Linked DNA regions of Homo sapiens: region 1 is linked to region 2. Evidence: promoter capture Hi-C in human tissues and cell types (Jung and others, 2019). All regions are on one chromosome and are shown on one strand. The core of a region is centred on a gene start or on the middle of the fragment in contact, and the rest is flanking DNA. Distances in the headings are between cores, read along the strand shown.

Region 1 (5,345 bases), core at 1,545-4,044, 660 kb before region 2:
TTTGAAGAAAAAGTGGCTTATTTTCTTTTGCAGTCATATCAGGCAGGCCCAGGGAAAACAGTACCCCAAAATTTAAAAAGTAACTTTCAGGGAAGTCATCTGAGGGTCCCCCTTATTTGGGGCCCCTTCAAGTTCCCTTCTCATTGCAGGACCTTTGGCAAGTAAAGGGAGACTTAGGCTGGTTTTCTGATGACCTTAATAAGTATATGGAAGCTTTCCAATATTTAACTCAGGTATGTAACCTCTCATGAAGGGATGTTATGTTGCTGCTAAGGCAAACCCTTACTGTAGGTAAAATAAGCAGCTCTGCAAGCAGAAGAAAATTTTGGAGATAAGTAATGTCTCCTATAGAAGGCCAAAAGGGAAAAGAAAAAAATAGGGAAGGCAAAGGGGAAACACCATTCCCAATAGGAAAAGAGGCAATACCTCCTGACAACCCTAATTGGAACTCCTTTCTGTGGTGTTTTTCCTTGTTTTGCAGTTTAAAATGGCTTCTCTTTTATAATGTTCTTCCAACATGGAAAAGGTTAATTTTCCAAACCTTAAAATGTTTGGCATAGAGTTGAGCTAGGGGGAAGGAAACCCAGCCCAGAAGCCTGATATGCTGGCAAAAGGGTAAAAATTTCTTACCAGTCAGGCTTTTGGCTTCTCTCTTCCTGTGGAAACCGGCAAAAGGGATAATAAAGATCATTGTTTATGTTTTCTTTAAATTTATAGTTAATGAAAAAGGATTTGTGAGGTTGGTCTTAAGCTGTAAACAATCTGCTCTTCTTTGTATGTCTTTCTGTGTGGTTCTGTTAAAGAAAAGGTATCTTAGGTCAGGATGCAGGCCCAGAAACCCATAAGCCTGCTGTTCAAACCAGCCCAGCAAAGTATCCAGTGGCAAACTTGGCTACAGGCCTCCATCTTGTTTCATGTCATGGGAACATAATCTGTAACCATGTGGCAATACTTTGTTTTTGTCTCCGCCATTTTACAATGGTGGCTGTCTTCTTGTGCTAAATCAGATAAGCCAGTTTGTCAGTCTGGGCTGTGTCAGCTGATCCATCAAGGGCAGGGTTTACAAAACATCTTAAGCACTGATCATAACAGCCGTTTAGGGAGGGTCAAAATCTTGTAGCCTCCAATTGCATGGCTCTTGGGCCATGGTTTCTAATCCTGTAGCTAGTTTCTTGGTCTGGTCCCCAGGCAAAAGGGAAGTATATCTTGAGAAGCAGCTGCTATCTTCTTTGTTTTAGACTATAAACTGTAAACCAAGCTCCTCCCCAACTTGATTCAGCCTATGCCCGGGGATGGGCAAGGACAGTTTGGGGACTGGAAACAAAATGGAGTTGTTTGGGTGAGATCTCTTCCACTGTCTCAGTCACAATTTTGCAGTGACAGTTTCAAAAGCTGCCTGTCCGGGTGGATCACGAGGTCAGGAGTTCAAGACCAGCCTAGTCAACATGACGAAACCCTGTCTCTACTAAAAAAACAAAAATTAGCCAGGCGTGGTGGCATGCACCTGTAGTCCTGGCTACTCAGGAAGCTGAGGCAGAGGAATTGCTTGAACCCAGGAGGCAGAGGTTGCAGTGAGCCAAGATCATGCTACTGCACTCCAGCCTGGGTGACAGAGCAAGACTCTGTCTCAGCAAAAAAAAAAAAAAAAAAAAAAAGCTGCCTGTCACTCCTTTAAAAATACCTTTTACACTCCTGGTTAAGTCATAACCTAATTAAAGCTCTTTAGTTTTACCTGTGAGGTTACTTATTGTAAAGTTCAAAAGCCAAAAATCTTAACTGCTTGGCATGGCTAAGGTCAAGTAACAAAGGATTTAGAAGAATTTTCTTAAAGAGTGCTCAGCTTAATTAAAAGTGGAAAATCAAGTTATAGGTATATTAAAAGGCCTTTATGTTTTTTCTTTTCTTGAATCTTGTTTTTCTGGAAAAAGGCTCATCTCAGCCGACTGAATTATTTTTCTCCATTTTTTGTCTTACTACTCTTAATGCATGTATAAAAGGCCCTAAGATAACTTCTGGTAGCATGGGACTCCTCAGGAAACACAGAGGAGGCGCCACAGACCCCGTTTTGGGAAAAAACCCTCTGTTTTCCTCATGAAACCCCAGGAATTAAAAGCAAATAATTCCCTCTCAAAATCAAAGGCTCTGTTCTGTTTTGCATTGTGTTATCTGATGGTTTTGAGTTTTGGGGGTATCAGAAATTACTTCGCATTTTTACAAGAAAGCTTTGGTGTGTAATAATCAAGTAGAAAATACACTGTAAGGGATGGCTAATAGTAGTTATAAATCAGGGATGCTCTTGGCCACCTGGAAGATAAGGAAACATCCTCACCCTGCACTGGGAGATGAGACTCCCATCAGGGATGGGCTAATTACAAAATAAGCCAATTGGCTTTGGGCTGCCTTGCAATGCAATGCATGGTAGAAGCACTACACCGTCCTCTCCCATAGTATCTATATGGTCTTTTCATAAATTAAGCATTAAAATAAAAGCATAGCAAGGAGGTCTTAAGACACTAATCTGCCCCTTAGTAAAAGGGTTATAAAAGGTTTGTAAAGATTTCACCTTGGCCGGGTGCGGTGGCTCACACCTGTAACCCCAGCACTTTGGGAGGCCGAGGCGGGCAGATCACCTGAGGTCGGGAGTTCGAGACCAGGCTGACAAACATGGAGAAGCCCCGTTTCTACTAAAAATACAAAATTAGCCAGGGGTGGTGGCACATGCCTGTAATCCCAGCTACTTGGGAGGCTGAGGCAGGAGAATCGCTTGAACCTGGGAGGCGGAGGTTGCAGTGAGCTGAGATCATGCCCTTGCACTCTAGCCTGTGCAACAAGAATGAAACTCCATCTCAAAAAAAAAAGAAAAAAAAAGATTTCACCTCATGGTCAAATTGGTTAGGATTTGATGGAATAATCTATAAGGTTTCGTGTAAACAAATTGGGGTTAACATTAATAAACTAATGCAAGGGTAAAATTTTGCTTTGAACAAGATTTTCATTTCATAATAAAGGCTAATGAAAGGATTTTGCCTTTTGAGTCATCATTTTGGCAAAATAATTTATGGCAATCTGGAAATTGTCCTTCCTGATACCTAACTTTTTGAATGGTTTAGAGGGGCCCTGAAACATTCAGAAAAGAGGTAAACAGGATTATTTGACATGTTTAGTCACATGAGATTGCCAAAATGATGTCCAATCTTATTTAAGTTATAGTTTGGTGAATAATACTAATATATGTTTCAGAATTGTATGGGATTTCTAAGATTCTAATGTCTAAGTATATGCTATCAATCATAATTAAGGGTAAAGTTATTGTAAACCATGAAGATAAATAAACTTCTTTGTCAGTCATGTTTTTAACTATCCTGAAAATTTTGTCATTCACAGACAATTGTTGTCCTGCTTTGTTCCTTTTCAAAAAATGGTTTATAATCAAGCTCTATTAAGGAGTTCAACAGGTGTTCTCAAATGCAGGTTTTTAATAGCTTTAAAGATTGTAACATTGGAATAGAGAGAGAATGTATGGGACTCACAAAGAACTAATATGTTCATAAATATCAAGCAAAACAAGAGTTAAGTAAATGGACTGCACTCAGAAAGTTAAAGCAGAGTTTTTAACTTTGCTTGGAATATTGCTGATCCTTGTTTTGTTTTTCAGAGTCAAGAAAAGTTTTAAACTATTTATGGCCTTTAATAATTGAGTAAGGTATACTCCTGTGAACAAAATTTGGAGCATATTTATTTGTCTCTGCCTGGTTCCTCTAGAATTTGGAGACTAGCTGTACTCTTAACTTAACGGCAATATAGCTCTTTGCATCAGTGCAATAAGAATCCATTTTTCTTTGTCAACAGGACACATTGGAAAAACTGGTTATTTTAACCAAGGCTTGAGGGTGTGTTTCCTTTTAAGGAATCAAGCTTGACATGCAGAGCAAATAAAAGCCCCTTGGGGAGAACTGGCCTCATACCTTGTCTGCACAGTCCCTGCACAAGATTCCTAACCTGTGGTCAGTAAAGAGTGTCACTTTCTAATAGGTCTGGGAGCTCCGAGTTTATCTTGGGGCCTCAAGAGGAGAGGATCACCCAACTCACAGGTATTTGAGGATACAAACCCATGGCTGGGCTTGGCTTTAAAAGGTCTTATCTGAGATTCCTTGTAGAACAGTTTCATCGAAGCCAATCCAAAAGGCCTGTGTAGAAATAACCTTTCTTGCTGCACTTTATGCAAACAATCAGGCCATGTATAGGACTAAAGTTTATTCTACAGACAACACACACGGGCCTATCATAATTTGTTTTTATCAAAAATGAGGACTGGAGAGAAAAACTGTGCTCCAAAGCTTATCATACATTTCTCCAAAACTTACTATACATTTCTCATTAAATCCTAGTCTCATCAATTGTTTTTAAGCTTTTTGCCTACATATTATACTAACTCTGCTTATTCCTGTGAATCAAGTGGTAATCCCCTACAGTTTGGAAGAAATAAAAAGGGATGGGTAATGTAAAAATCTGAATCAATATGCTAGTTCTGGGCAATTATCCTGCAAATTCTGCCAGTTAATGAAAGTGAGTATGATGCCCATTAACTCAGGTTTTTTTTTTTTTTTGTTTGGGAAAATAAAACCAAGGCTTCATAGACCACCAAAGGAAAATTCTGTATCTTGGCAAGTAAAATTTTACATGGAAGTTATCTACTACATCACACTTGTGGAAGTTGCTATACTCACTCTGCTATTTGCAAGAGGGTTATACGTGGTAGCACCTTCTAACTGACATATTGGACAGAGTTTCCATTGCTGTTGTATTTTGCTCAATTATTATCCTTATAGCAGGGATAATAGTTACTGACAAAAAGGAAGCATGAAAGTTTTACTATCACTGAGTCTGCTAGCACTTTTTATTGGGTTTAGTAATGATTAACACCTCTAGTAGAGGAAAATCTACAGGTACTTAAGAATGAAATCAAAATTATTAACAGGCTCAGGGAAAATGCCGGCTCCAGCCCTGGATGGCTACAATCCCTCTTTAATGAATTCCAATCTTCTTTATGGAATTGGTCAGCCCCTTTATCAAGCCCTCTCCTGCTTATATGTCTTGTATTGATATTTGGACCCTGTATACTCAGTACCATAACTCGAACTGTTTCTTCTCGCCTCAAAGCAGTCAAACTCCAAATGGTACTGCAAACTGAACCACATATGGACACGCCATTCTCCCGAGGACCCTTAAGTTGACCCTAGGAGGAGCCCTCACTGCTGTTCCCCATTTGACGCCCCTTTTCAGCAGGAAGTAGCCAGAAAGAGTCGTCGCCCAAAACCCCCTAACAGCAGATAGTGTGATATCAC
Region 2 (4,884 bases), core at 1,482-3,981:
ATGAATTCTCCTCTTCCGCACCCCCCTGCTTCCTTCACCAAAGAACCAGGCATCCCGGCCTCTGCTCTTCCCAGCTTTCAAACTCCTCTTGGGAAGGGCCTGTGTCTGTCTCCCCTGGAATAACACTGCCTCACTCACGACCTGCTTAAGGAATGAGGCCGTCAGAAATGGGGCTTAAAAGAAGTTTTAAACAGGCTGCCATGGAACACAGTTGCCAGATTTTCCGAATCAAAATACAGAACATCCAAGTTAAATGGAATTTCAGATAAAGAGTAATCTTTGAAGGGAAGTGTGTCCCATGGAGTACTGGGAACATACCCTAAAAATCACTCCCTGTGCATGGAACTCATATTTAATTGTGCCCCCTAAATTGGGCCTGGCAGGATGAAGACGTGGTGGCTTCCTTACCTCGAGGAGCCAGCCCTTCTTCTCACACTCTGGCCACTCCTCTGGCACGTCCTGTCGGCACAGCCCTCCAAACACATTCCTCCACACGGTGGGCAATGTAAAACCCCACCATCGCCCACACCTCCTGCCTCCGCTGGGATCCACTGCCCACCTCCCCGTCCCCTCCCCGCGGCCTGCCACCTCTGGCCACAGGGGACTTCCTGCCCTTCCTCAAAAGGAAGTCAGTCTGTGACCCAGGGCGACTGTGCTGCTGCCCCTTCCAGCCGCATGCCTCTCCCTCCGAACAGTCCACTGGTGTCAGCAAGGTCCCTGCCCTGAGTGTCACTGCCCCTGGGCAGCTGACCTGGCCCACGCCACTTCCTCCCACACCACTGCCTCCTTACCCTGCTTTATGAAGTTTTCTTGGCCCTTCTCAGTGCCCTAAATGAAATATTCATGACTTAGTTGGCATCTCCGTGGCAACCTGGCCTTGTGCCCTTGTGCCCTAGGATGTTCCAGCTCCTCACAAATACTGGCACAGAGGGGACATTCCTTGAACAGTGAATGCCACTGGACAGCCTCGAAGTCAGCGAGGATGCTGGGAGGCCATCCCAGAGGGGATCCGATGGGACCTTGGTCTAGGGGCCCTTGAAGGGTCTTCACCAACCTCAGCTTCTACGACTGTAAAAGCAACTCAAACAGAACTGTACTGTGCATGCCTGGAGGTCCCCAAACCTCCCGTTAAAATGACCAACACATGGGAGGACAGCTCTTGTGGCTGCCCCAAAGAGAAGGAGACATCCTCAATATGAAAACCACGTGCCCCACTCTGCTCCCACATGGCGTGCAACATGCCCCACACCACCCAGAGCAGGGAGGGACCCTGGCTGACTCTGGAGAGGCTGCTCTGAGGCCCAAGTCAACAAGAGGCTATGGCTGTGCAGAAGGAACAGCGCGGCGGTGACCACTGCCCAGCCTGGACAATTCCCAGGGCTCCACACATCTCTCGGTCACTGCGACCACCAGTATTATCAGATCCAACCGTTGCACGTGCAGGCGTGACTTTCTGGGTGCCTGAGTGATGGAGACAGAGACAGGCCCAAGAGTCTGTGAGTGCAGATACACAAAAGGCAACAGCAGGCTGGGCCGCCGAACTGGGCCAGGATGGACTGAGAATCCTCAGGTGGGACAAGGATCCCAATTATTCACATTTCCTGGTCCCTTCTGTCCCCACCCCATGAGAGAGGCGCCCCCGCCAGAAATATGTGTTCCCCTCCTTTTGCAGCTGGGAAAACAACCGAATGTCCTGGCGCTGCTTTCTAGAACATGTTCAGGTCTCCCAGAGCCCAGTGGCCTGAGATTCACTGGGCAGCAGGTGGCCGCCTCTCCCCAGAGCCCTTCAGTCTGGAAGTCCAAGCACAACCCTGGCGTCCAGCTCCCCTGCCACCAGGATCCAGGTTACCAGAGGCCGTCCGGGGATCTCCGGCAGCGTAGGAGGGCGGGCCCGGGCTGCAGCAGTCACGAAAACTCCGCCGGCGGCGCCCGAGGAGTTGCTAGGGGAATCTGCTCCGCCTCTAACCCGGCACACGCAGGCCCACCTGCTTCCAGCATGCCGGGACAGTTCACTGAGAGAACCGCCCCCACCGCGGAGGCACCGAGGGTCCGGCTCGCTTATGCCCACGCAGCCGGCTAGACCTTCTGTGGGGGCTCTGCTTTCTCCGCGTTACACCACCCCGACCCCACAAGGCCACGAGGAAAGTAAATGAGGCCTCAGCCCGTCCCCAGACCCCCTCCCCTAAGTGTCCACCTTTGCGCCTAGGACCCCGCGTGGGCCAAGCCGGCCTTCTCCGCTTGGACCCCGCCGGGCCTACCTGCCTTGCGCAGCAGACCGATTTGCGAGCCGTTGAGGGCCATGTAGTCGCAGTCGGTGACGACCCGCACTCGCACCCCACGCTGGTGCAGCAACTGCACGGCGCGGCCCAGCTGCGGGCTGGAGAAGGCGAACAGGCAGAGATCCAGGCTGGCGCGGGCGGCCAGCAGGGCACGCAGCAGGCGGCTTAGCGCGCTCTCGCCGTGGGGCAGGCCGCACGGGCAGCCCTCGGGGAGCTCGGCCAGCTCCGCGCCCGGAGCCCGCAGCAGGGCCTCGGTACAGGTCACCTGAGACGGGAAGAACAGCGCCTCGCGCCGCGGCCGCCGCCGCCTGGACCGCAGCCAGCGCAGCACCCAAGGCAGCGCCTCCAGAGTCAGAGCCAGGCCCACAGCCGCCGCGGCCGCCACCTGCCAACTCAACCGTCCCATGCCGCCGCTAATCCGGGACCCACAGCCACGCCGCCGCAGCGGAGTCTGCGCGCCCCCAGCCCTAGACCGCCAGGCCACGCCCCCGTCACGCGCCGCCAGCGGCCATGTGCCAGGCCACGCCCAGCCCCCCATGGCCACGCGCCAGGCCACGCCCTATCACGTCCTGCCAATTGCCACGCACCAGGCCACGCCCCCGTCACGCAGCGCCAACGGCCACGTGCCAGGCCACGTGCCAGGCCACGCCCAGCACCCATGGCCACACGCCAGGCCACGCCCCCGTCACGCCCCACCAACGGCCACGTGCAAGGTCACGCCCTCAGCCCCCGAGGGCCACGCGCTAGGCCGCGCCATGCCCCCACAACTGTCACGCACCAAGCTGAACCCACGCCTCCCATCAGCCCGCCCCCAACCCTCAACAGGTGACCACGCCTCCCTCCACGCGCCAGGCCACGCCCCCTGCCACAGACACCCTCCACCCCCCAACGCCAGGCTGTGCCCCCCATTTTCCTTCCAGCCAGGCGCTCGGCCACGCCCTCCAGGTTCCACCTCCCACCACGTGCCAAGCCACGTCCCCAAGCCCGCGCCACCAGGCAGCACCTGCACACCCGCGGGCCACGGGCCCTAGCACACCCGTCACCTGCCCAGGCCAGAGACCGCTCTCCGCGCTAGAAGCCACAGCAACCCCGGCTTTCCTCGCATGGAGCACAGCAGAGCTGCTCTGGAAATGTGGGGTCACACCTTCACTGTCTTCTCGGGAGCAGCTAGGCTGGGCTGGGGAATGACCTGGGAACACAGATAATCAGGGAATCAACACAGCTGGAGGCAGCATTGGAACCCAGCATACTGGAGGCGGTGTCGGCCCAGAGGTTTTTTCCTAGCCCAAGAGGTTTTTTCCAGCCGGCGTTGTTGGAAGGCCTGCCCTGCTTTAAGCATAAACAGAGGAAGAGACTAAGGCAGCCGAGGGCACTGGGCCGGGGGCATAGGGAAACGGGGCAATGTGGTGGTCTGGGCTGGATCCTGGAACCGAAAGAAGACATTCACGGAAAAACTGGTGAGAGCCAAATAAAGTCTGGAGCTTAATCGCATTGTACCAATGTCAGTTTCTTAGCTTTGACAAATGTATGAAAGGAATGTAAAAGGTTAACAAAGGAAGCTGCGTGGGGGTAAATGGATCTCTCTGTTCTATATTCGAAACTTTTCTGTAAAGCAAATTATTCTAAATTAAAAGTTTATTAAAATATTAAACTTGCACCTTCCATATGATCCAGCTATCCCACTCCTAGGAGAAAGGGCGGGATCCATTAACACAAGCACGTGTCCTGGCAGGCGTATGTGCCTAGAACAACCCAAAAAGGCGTCAGCAGGTAAACAGGTAAATAAGCTTTTGTATATCTGTACAAGGGAATGCTATTTAGCAATAAAATAGAATGAAGTGGCCTGGCACGGTGGTTCATGCCTGTTATCCCAGAACTTTGGGAGGCTGAGGCAGGAGGACAGCTTGAGTTCGGGAATTCGAAACCAGCTTGGCCAACATGGTGAAACACTGTCTCTACCAAAAAATACAAAAATTAGCTGAGTGCGCTGACGTGCCTGTGATCCCAGCTACTCGGGAGGCTGAGGTGGGAGAATCGCTTGAGCTCTGGAGACTAAGGTTGCAGTGAGCCAAGATCATGCCATTGCACTCCAGCCTGGGTGACACAGCAAGACCCTATCCCCCCCCCACCAAAAAAAAAAAAAAACAGTACTCACATGTGCTACGACGTGGATGAATTTCATTAATATTGAGTGGGAAAAGCCAGACAAAAAGAGTACATACTGTATGATTCCATTTACATAAAATTCTAGAAAATGCAAACTAGATTGAGGGAAAGCAGACCAGTGTAGCCTGGAGGCCAACAAAGCCACAAGGAAGTGGAGTGATGGATGTGTGCTTATCGGGTTGACTGTGGTGGTTTCACAGGTATATACATATGTCAAATTGTATGGTGTAAATAACTAAAAATGTATGTCAGTGATTATGTCAATAAAATTCTTTTTTTTTTTTTTAAGACGGAGCCTCGTTCTTTCGCCCAGGCTGGTGTGCAGTGGTGCGATCTCGGCTCACTGCAACCTCTGCCTCCGGGGTTCAAGTGAGTCTCTGCGTCAGCCTCCCGAGCAGCTGGGATTACAGGCGCCCACCACCACACCCGGCTAATTTTT

Evidence for each region. The method cuts DNA at HindIII sites, captures the fragments that hold promoters and counts their contacts. A contact is called where the count stands out against the background at its distance.
Region 1: a fragment that was not itself captured here is called in contact with the fragment with the promoter of PLD6 in region 2 in 1 of the 25 tissues and cell types used here (hippocampus).

The regions. Positions count from the first base shown.
Region 1 is chr17:16,540,730-16,546,074 of GRCh38, forward strand. LOC105371554 (a long non-coding RNA gene) reads left to right here. Exons shown (of 4, transcript XR_007065637.1): 4 at 1-3,357. Among named protein-coding and RNA genes, the nearest start is that of ZNF287, 26 kb to the right of the region's middle. The HindIII fragment of the contact is 3,155 bases long and covers 1,218-4,372 here.
Region 2 is chr17:17,203,602-17,208,485 of GRCh38, forward strand. PLD6 (phospholipase D family member 6) reads right to left here and starts at 2,732. Exons shown (of 2, transcript NM_178836.4): 1 at 2,259-2,732. The coding sequence starts at 2,685. RefSeq lists enhancers at 1,751-1,870, 2,926-3,765 and silencers at 2,391-2,510, 2,531-2,580, 2,701-2,950, 2,991-3,040. The HindIII fragment of the contact is 14,315 bases long and covers 1-4,829 here.